3 separate regions of the Homo sapiens genome follow, and regions 1 and 3 are each linked to region 2. The links are contacts of gene promoters, found by promoter capture Hi-C in human tissues and cell types (Jung and others, 2019). All regions are on one chromosome and are shown on one strand. The core of a region is centred on a gene start or on the middle of the fragment in contact, and the rest is flanking DNA. Distances in the headings are between cores, read along the strand shown.

Region 1 (2,772 bases), core at 34-2,533, 610 kb before region 2:
AGGTTGCCATTCCACCTATGGGTATTTACTCAAAAACAAAACAACAACAACAAAAAAAACCTTGTATGTCCAAACAAAGACTTGTACATGGATGCTTAGCATTTTTTTTCTTTTTTTGTGATGGAGTTTCACTCTTGTCACCCAGGCTGGAGTGCAATGGCATGATCTCTGCTCACTGCAACTTCTACCCCCTGGGTTCAAGCAATTCTCCTGCCTCAGCCTCCTGAGTAGCTGAGATTACAGGTGCCCACCACCACGCCTGGTTAATTTTTATATTTTTAGTAGAGGTGGGGGTTTCACCATGTTGACCAGGCTGGTCTTGAACTCCTGTCCTCAGGTGATCTACCCACCTTGGTCTCCCAAAGTGCTGGGATTACAGATGTGGGCAACCACACCCAGCCAAATGCTCAGTATTTGTAATAGCCCAAAGTGAAACAATTCAAGCACCCCTCATGTTGAAATGTAATCTTCAATGTTGGAGGTGGGTCCTACTGGGAAGTGTTCGGGTCATGGTTGTGGATCACTTATGAGTGGCTTGATGCCCTTCCCATGGTAATGAGTGAGTTCTCACTCTATTAGTTCACAGGAGAGCTGGCTGTTAAAAGGAGTCTGTCACCTCCTCCCCCGTCTCTCATGCTCCTTCTTTTGCCATGTGACACACCTGTTCCCTCTTTGCCTTCTGCCATGATTGGAAGCTTCCTAAGACTTCCTCAAGAAGCCGGGAAGATGCTGGTGCCAAGCTTGTGCAGCCTGCAGTACTGTGAACCAATTACACCTGTTTTCTTTATAAATTACCCAGCCTCAGGTATTCCTTTATAGCAACACAAAGCAGACTAATACATGTACAATAGAATACTACTTAGGAATGTAAAGGAATAAATATTGATACTTACAACAACATGGATGAATTTCAGAATAATCATGCTGAGCAAAAGTCAGGCAAAAGGATGCATCCTTTATTCTTTCATTTATATAAAATTCTAGAAAATGTAAACTAATCTACAGTGACAAAGTAGGGCAGGGGCCTATGGGAGGGAGAGAGGGAAGGATGATGAAGGAGCATGAGGAAGCTTGGGCTGATGGACGTGTTCGCTATCTTGATTGTGGTGATGGTTTCGTAGGCATATGTTTATGTCAAACCTCAAATCACACAATTTAAGTAAATGCCATTTATTGTATGCCAATTATATTTCAATAAAAATATATTCTTCCATTTCCCCCAAAAAACGCTAGAGAAATGCCTCAGGCAGAACCTTAGTGAGACAATGTATTTAATGCATCTAGAGCAGGGCCTGATGTATCAGGTGCACTCAATAAAGGGTACTTTTCTTTCACTTTCCTTCCCCACCCCATCAAAATATTTAGATTACTGTACATCCAGTACAGAAACTTGTAGTTTCTCCTGTACAGATTATGGTGGAGCAGAAAGGCACTCATGTTTTGATCCTCAAAGGTCATTCAATACTATTTGTTTGAGGCTGAAACTTTTCAATGCTTTCACAGTATTTGGAACAAGACATGATTACCAGAAGCACATGTAGTTCAGTGTTGAAATTTCATTTTTTTGAAATGCATCTGGGTTTTAAAAATGTAGTTGCATGATTGAGCTTTTGCATGGAGGCCATCTTCATCCAGGAAGCATTTATTGAGGGCCCTCCGAGGTGTTTCTGACGCGTAGCAAAGGCTGTTAAATGAGTTACAGAAACGACCCAGCACGGCCGACACCTCCTTGTTCGGCTGTTGGCAGTTCTGTTCTTTGCCGCCTCCTTCCTGGTGGGCTCTGGGTGAGCCACTGCCATATACACTCTTTTATGTTGGTGTCTTTCCCTTTATCGCTGTCACTGTGTGCCTGTCTCAGCAGTGTCGTGCCTAAGTGTGTTGCGACATCTCCACTTCCACCCATTTCTGTGGAGGCTTCCTTCATTTTTGGTGCCAAGAGGTACCACGTGCCTGAAGCTGAGTTGCACCAAGGGAGGCTCTGGAATGTCAGGCACCAGTCTTTGAACCTACATGCAAGAAACGGTGAAATAATTTGATTTCCTCTCAAGAGGGGAATACAGGATGCAAAATGGAGACCTTTGTGTATGGAAGCCTTTGATGAGACTTGTGCCTGGAGGCCTTCTTTCAATGGTGACCGCAATGTGGGCAAAGCCTCCCTTGCAGAACCTCCAGCGAGTGTGGAAGAAGCCGCCCAGGAAGCTTTTGCCATATGGTGAGGGGGACCCACAGGAGGGAGCCATGCTCCCTGAGAGCAGGCTTCATCCCGGACGCTGGCCTGGGGTGTCTGGCACGTGCTGCCATTCCCCCATTTCCACCAGCCTGGCGCTGGGATGCAGCAAATGACTGCATGCAACTTACAAATGCATCGTGGATTCCACCAAATGATAAACGAGAGGATATTGTCCCCTGAGCTCACAAATGAAAAGTCAACAATTTAAGCAACAGTTGATGTCCCGCTTGTCTACCCCCAGTGACCCTGGTTTCATGGGGCAGAAAGGGCTCTTGCCTCTGTCTCTGTGTAACTGCTGACTGTACCTTGAAGTGCACCCTTTATCAGAGATAGATGCTATCAGTCAAAGTCGGTATCAGGACAATTCTCCACTGATACATGGAGTTAAATCTACAGTTGTGTGAGTTCCCAGGAAGCTCTTAACTCCAGGGAAAGTGGAGAGATGGAGAGCTTATTCCATAACATTTTTGTTAGACTTCCTCTCATTCTTTTCTTTGCAGCATCTACACCACTTGCAGAGACCCTGAATTAGTGTTTTTGGG
Region 2 (2,870 bases), core at 34-2,533:
CCCGTCCTGAGGCCCCGCCTTTCATTCGGTTTATGTGGCCCCGCGCAGTTCACGCAGTTTTCTCCGTTCTTAGGCAACCAGCTCGTGGGAAATTCACTCCAGAAAAGCGTGCGCCATATCATTATTTTGCGATTCAACAAACTTTTTCAACTGTTGTTCAGGAACTAGATTCCAGATAGATCTTGTTGTGTTCGGCCTTCCTAGAAATTCCTTTTCCAGAGGAAGAAGATCCGGGTTGGGAAGAGTGCGTGACTATGGCCCCGGGCTCATTGAAAGACTCCTCCCCACAAAAGTTTAGGGCTGATACTAAACGAAGCTATGGAGCCATGCCCACACAAATACTCCCCCTTTACCCGAATTGTGGGGCCTGGACTGTGAAGGCCTTCGCTGCAAGAGCGGGCACTGGCGAACTTCAGTGCACGCCGCGGCCGAGAACGGATGCAGGGCGGGGGATGGCTGAGCCGCCTGATCCTTGCAGAGAACCTGCAGGGGCCCTCGGAGGGTATCCCCTGCGTCCAAGGGAGCGCCCCTCCTTTTCAGCACTCGGGGGAACTGAGGGCGACGTGCCAGCCCCGCACTCAACTTTCCCCTTCCCTGCAGGCACAGAGTTGGCCGGCGGGGGCAGAGGAGGAGCTGGGTCTCCACTGCGCCCGTTTAAACCTGGCCAGGGGCTGCGTTTCCTCCCCCCACCCCACGACGATCCTTTCTTAGTCTTCGCTTTTCAACCCAATCGTTAATCATTCGGAACGCGCGGGCGGGGAGCGGCGAGGAGGGCGAGCTCGGGGTTCGCCGCCGCCGCCGCCGCCGCGCGCGCGCGCTCAGGAAGCGGTGTGGCTGTCACCCCCTCCCGGGCCTCCTCCCCCCTCCTTCCTGCTTTGCTCCCCCTCCTTCCTCCCCTCCTCCCCGCTCCGCCGCCCGCGCCCAGTGTATCTACTCCCTCCCCACGTCACTCGCCAGCGCGCCATGCAAATCACCGCCGCCGCCGGCTCCCATTGGCCGCGGCGCGCTCATTTAATGGCAGCCCGGGCCCGGCGTATGGCTGCTGGGCCCCGCGCGCCGCCGGCCCCGCGTGCGCCTCCGCTCCGAGCGCACGGCCCCGGGCAGGCAGCGGGCAGCCCATCCCGGGCTCGGCGGCCCCGGCTCTCCGGCCCTCTCCGCGAGCCCGCGCTCCTCCCGCTGTCCCCGGGCCCCTCCCTGGCTGCACCGTAATCGCCCCCTGCAGGCCCCCCTGCGCCTCCCCCCCCCCGCCACTGGCGCCTGGCTTCCCCCGGGCACCTGGGACCAGCACATGCCCAGCGCACGCGGCGCGCCGCCCTGCTAGAAGTTGCAGCCTCCGAGTTGGAGGCCGCTGAGGACCGAGCGCAGGAGGAAGGAGACAGCGCGCAGCGGCGGCCGGCGAGGAGACAGCACACCCCGGGCCGGGCCCAGCGCACCGCTCCCGGCCCCAAAAGCGGAGCTGCAACTTGGCCACGACTGCACCTGTTTGCACCGCTCCGCCGAGGGCGCCTGGGCTGCGGTGGCGGCGAAGACGGCGACCCCGACCGTCGGCCTCTTTGGCAAGTGGTTTGTGCATCAGGAGAAACTTTCCACCTGCGAGCCGAACCGGCGCCGAGTGCGTGTGTTTCTGCCTTTTTTTGTTGTCGTTGCCTCCACCCCTCCCCATTCTTCTCTCCGCTAGGACCCCCCCGCCCCCGTCTCACTCCGTCTGAATTCCTCTCCGTCTCCCTCCCACCCCGGCCGTCTATGCTCCAGGCCCTCTCCTCGCGGTGCCGGTGAACCCGCCAGCCGCCCCGATGTACAGCATGATGATGGAGACCGACCTGCACTCGCCCGGCGGCGCCCAGGCCCCCACGAACCTCTCGGGCCCCGCCGGGGCGGGCGGCGGCGGGGGCGGAGGCGGGGGCGGCGGCGGCGGCGGGGGCGCCAAGGCCAACCAGGACCGGGTCAAACGGCCCATGAACGCCTTCATGGTGTGGTCCCGCGGGCAGCGGCGCAAGATGGCCCAGGAGAACCCCAAGATGCACAACTCGGAGATCAGCAAGCGCCTGGGGGCCGAGTGGAAGGTCATGTCCGAGGCCGAGAAGCGGCCGTTCATCGACGAGGCCAAGCGGCTGCGCGCGCTGCACATGAAGGAGCACCCGGATTACAAGTACCGGCCGCGCCGCAAGACCAAGACGCTGCTCAAGAAGGACAAGTACTCGCTGGCCGGCGGGCTCCTGGCGGCCGGCGCGGGTGGCGGCGGCGCGGCTGTGGCCATGGGCGTGGGCGTGGGCGTGGGCGCGGCGGCCGTGGGCCAGCGCCTGGAGAGCCCAGGCGGCGCGGCGGGCGGCGGCTACGCGCACGTCAACGGCTGGGCCAACGGCGCCTACCCCGGCTCGGTGGCGGCGGCGGCGGCGGCCGCGGCCATGATGCAGGAGGCGCAGCTGGCCTACGGGCAGCACCCGGGCGCGGGCGGCGCGCACCCGCACGCGCACCCCGCGCACCCGCACCCGCACCACCCGCACGCGCACCCGCACAACCCGCAGCCCATGCACCGCTACGACATGGGCGCGCTGCAGTACAGCCCCATCTCCAACTCGCAGGGCTACATGAGCGCGTCGCCCTCGGGCTACGGCGGCCTCCCCTACGGCGCCGCGGCCGCCGCCGCCGCCGCTGCGGGCGGCGCGCACCAGAACTCGGCCGTGGCGGCGGCGGCGGCGGCGGCGGCCGCGTCGTCGGGCGCCCTGGGCGCGCTGGGCTCTCTGGTGAAGTCGGAGCCCAGCGGCAGCCCGCCCGCCCCAGCGCACTCGCGGGCGCCGTGCCCCGGGGACCTGCGCGAGATGATCAGCATGTACTTGCCCGCCGGCGAGGGGGGCGACCCGGCGGCGGCA
Region 3 (2,700 bases), core at 187-2,686, 560 kb before region 2:
CACATCCACAGACACCACACGCTTTTCTTTGAGCCGCATTTGTTCTTCTCGAGGGTCCCTACATCTGGGAGACGTCAGAAGTCGGACTCTTTTATCTTTGGGTGTGGCTCTCCTGGCACCTTGCAAAGTCCACGCATACACCCATGAAGCCTTCTGTGTTTGGGCAGTGGTGGGGAGGCTGTCCCGTTTCTTCTTTGCCTTTGCGGCGAAGAGGATCATTGAGAACGCTGAGGACATGCACACCGATGTCGTGGCCTCCCAGCACTGCACGCCCCTAGGGAGCTTCTCGTCAGCTCATCTTCCTGTCTTGTTCCCCTCCCCTATAGAACGTTGGGATTAAAACATCAGATCATTGCCTCTCCTAGGTTTTTATTCTTGATGAATGCCAACAGAAACTATTGAAGACTATGGTGAACTAGAATGCATCATTGTCCTACAGGCTCTCAGATTACTTTGAAAAATATTGAAAAAAATCCCAGAACTTTGGGAGGCCAAAGCAGGCAGGTCACTTGAGGCCAGGAGTTCGAGACCAGCCTGGCCAACATGGCAAAACCCTGTCTCTACTAAAAAAATCCAAAAATTAGCCAGGTATGGTGGCATGCTCCTGTAATCACTGCCACTCAGCAGGCTGAGGCAAGAGAATCGCTTGAACCCAGGAGGTGGAGGTTGCAGTGAGTGGAGATCGTGCCACTGCACTCCAGCCTGGGCAACAGAGCGAGACTCTGTCTCAGGGAAAAAAAAAAATATATATATATATATATATTACAGAGGTCAATGAAAACAAAATACGCAATCAGAAATAAACCATGCCTCTGTAGTCTCTGAGCTCAGGGCGTGGAGCTGTGGCCCTGGAAGGCGGATCCCCTCCTGCCTTTGCATCTGGAGAGCTGAAGGCCTCAGGGCATCTGCTGCCTGGGGGTGTAGGTGGCTGCTGGTGCTGCCTCCATGAGCACATGCAGCTGTGACCTGCACTGAACCCTTGTCCTCATCTGTCTCTAGGGCACACATGCTGTCCGGGGAGGATGCAGTGCCCGGCACATAGGCAGCTCTTGATGAGAGTGTTGTATTTGTATTTGGAATCTGGGTGACCCCTCCATCCCTGCACCATTGCCCTCCTCAAGGACTCCACTGCACAATTCGGGGGATCCCCATCTCTGACAGCACCTGGGAGGCTGGGCCGCTGCAGCAAGTCCTCCACCAGGAGTCAGAGCCACTCGGTGAAAACACAAATGTGGCCATGTTGCTCCCCGTCCCACCTACCTTTGGCAAGTAACGCTCATTTCAAACACAAGGAAGGAGCTCTGTGACCTTCTCAACTCGGTCTCCGCCACTCCAGTGTGTGGATGGAGCATATATTGCCTGTCTCCCTTCCTCTTTGGGGCTGAGGAGGACTCCAGTGTGTGGATGGAGCATGTTTTGCCCATCCCCTCCTCCACGGATGGTTGCGTTGTATCCTTCTCTGGGCAGCTGTGAGCATCACTGCTGTGAGCGAGAGTGGATGGATGTCTGAGTGCCCAGTGGGCCCCTGAGGGCACCATCTGCCTCTTCTCCAACCCTTCACAGGTGCTGCCCTGCCATCAGGTGCCAGCAGCACCCCCACTAACCTGACGGCCTCTGCTTGCCCTTCCAAGCCTTCAAGCAAGTGTCCCCCTAGGGACAGCCCAGGCTGCATGTGTGCCCTTCACCCAAGCCTCCATGCGAATGTCCCCCCAGGGACAGCCTGCACTGCGCGTGTGCGCTTTGTCCAAGTTTCTATCACATCCTGTACCTCGGTCCCAGAATCTCTTACTTTTTGCGCTGCCATAGCTGCTATACTTAGTCAGCTTCCCTGCTCAACTGCAAGACACTTAAGAGACAAAAATGAGGCCTGAACTTTTGTGACCCCAACAAATAAATATGTGTTGGCTGGATTCATGGCAAGAAAATCAGGCAGCATGGGTGGCTTAGGGACAACCCATCTGTAAACCCATTTTAACTGCCAGTTTCACCTCATCCCTCCAGCCTCAGCCTCCACCCTCACCCTCACTTCCCTTCTGAGCCTAATGTCCTAGGCCTTTGTTTGGGATGGACTGTGGGGCTCCTCATCTCCCTGAGCACAGCCCCTTTCTGCAGATGCTGAAACCATGAACAACCCCATGCTGGTGGCTGGGTGAGTGAACGGGGGTGCTGGTGGCTGGGTGAGTGAACGGGGGTGCTGGTGGCTGGGTGAGTGAACGGGGGTGCTGGTGGCTGGGTGAGTGAACGGGGGTGCTGGTGGCTGGGTGAGTGAACGGGGGTGCTGGTGGCTGGGTGAGTGAACGGGGGTGCTGGTGGCTGGGTGAGTGAACGGGGGTGCTGGTGGCTGGGTGAGTGAACGGGGGTGCTGGTGGCTGGGTGAGTGAATGGGGGTGCTGGTGGCTGGGTGAGTGAATGTGGGCATAGGCTCCACAGCGTGGATCCCTCCTCCTGGAAAGACCACCAGCAGCCTTTGTTTGAGGAAATTCTGTGCTTTTATTTTCATACAATACAAGGTGACATTATTCACAATGGGAAAAAATATGGCAAAATAAATAACGGAAACCACTTTTCATTGACTTCCCCAGTCATTTGACCTGCCCCCCAGCCTCGGTGCTCAGGTCTCTGGTTAACTACTGATGGTATCAAGAGATTCACTGCACCTTCGGGGGCTGAATTCCTTATTTGTCAATTTTGCTCATTTTA

The links. Contacts are between HindIII fragments. The study calls those that stand out against the background at their distance.
Region 1: a contact is called between a fragment that was not itself captured here and the fragment with the promoter of SOX1 in region 2, in 2 of the 25 tissues and cell types used here (IMR-90 fibroblasts and dorsolateral prefrontal cortex).
Region 3: a contact is called between a fragment that was not itself captured here and the fragment with the promoter of SOX1 in region 2, in 2 of the 25 tissues and cell types used here (dorsolateral prefrontal cortex and thymus).

The regions. Positions count from the first base shown.
Region 1 is chr13:111,454,763-111,457,534 of GRCh38, forward strand. No RefSeq gene overlaps it. Among named protein-coding and RNA genes, the nearest start is that of TEX29, 140 kb to the left of the region's middle. The HindIII fragment of the contact is 4,337 bases long and covers 1-2,772 here.
Region 2 is chr13:112,065,866-112,068,735 of GRCh38, forward strand. It overlaps SOX1 (SRY-box transcription factor 1), which reads left to right and starts at 1,284. Exons shown (of 1, transcript NM_005986.3): 1 at 1,284-2,870. The coding sequence starts at 1,794. The region is part of intron 1 of SOX1-OT (SOX1 overlapping transcript); the gene reads left to right. The HindIII fragment of the contact is 28,986 bases long and covers 1-2,870 here.
Region 3 is chr13:111,505,366-111,508,065 of GRCh38, forward strand. No RefSeq gene overlaps it. Among named protein-coding and RNA genes, the nearest start is that of LINC02337, 89 kb to the right of the region's middle. The HindIII fragment of the contact is 4,579 bases long and covers 1-2,700 here.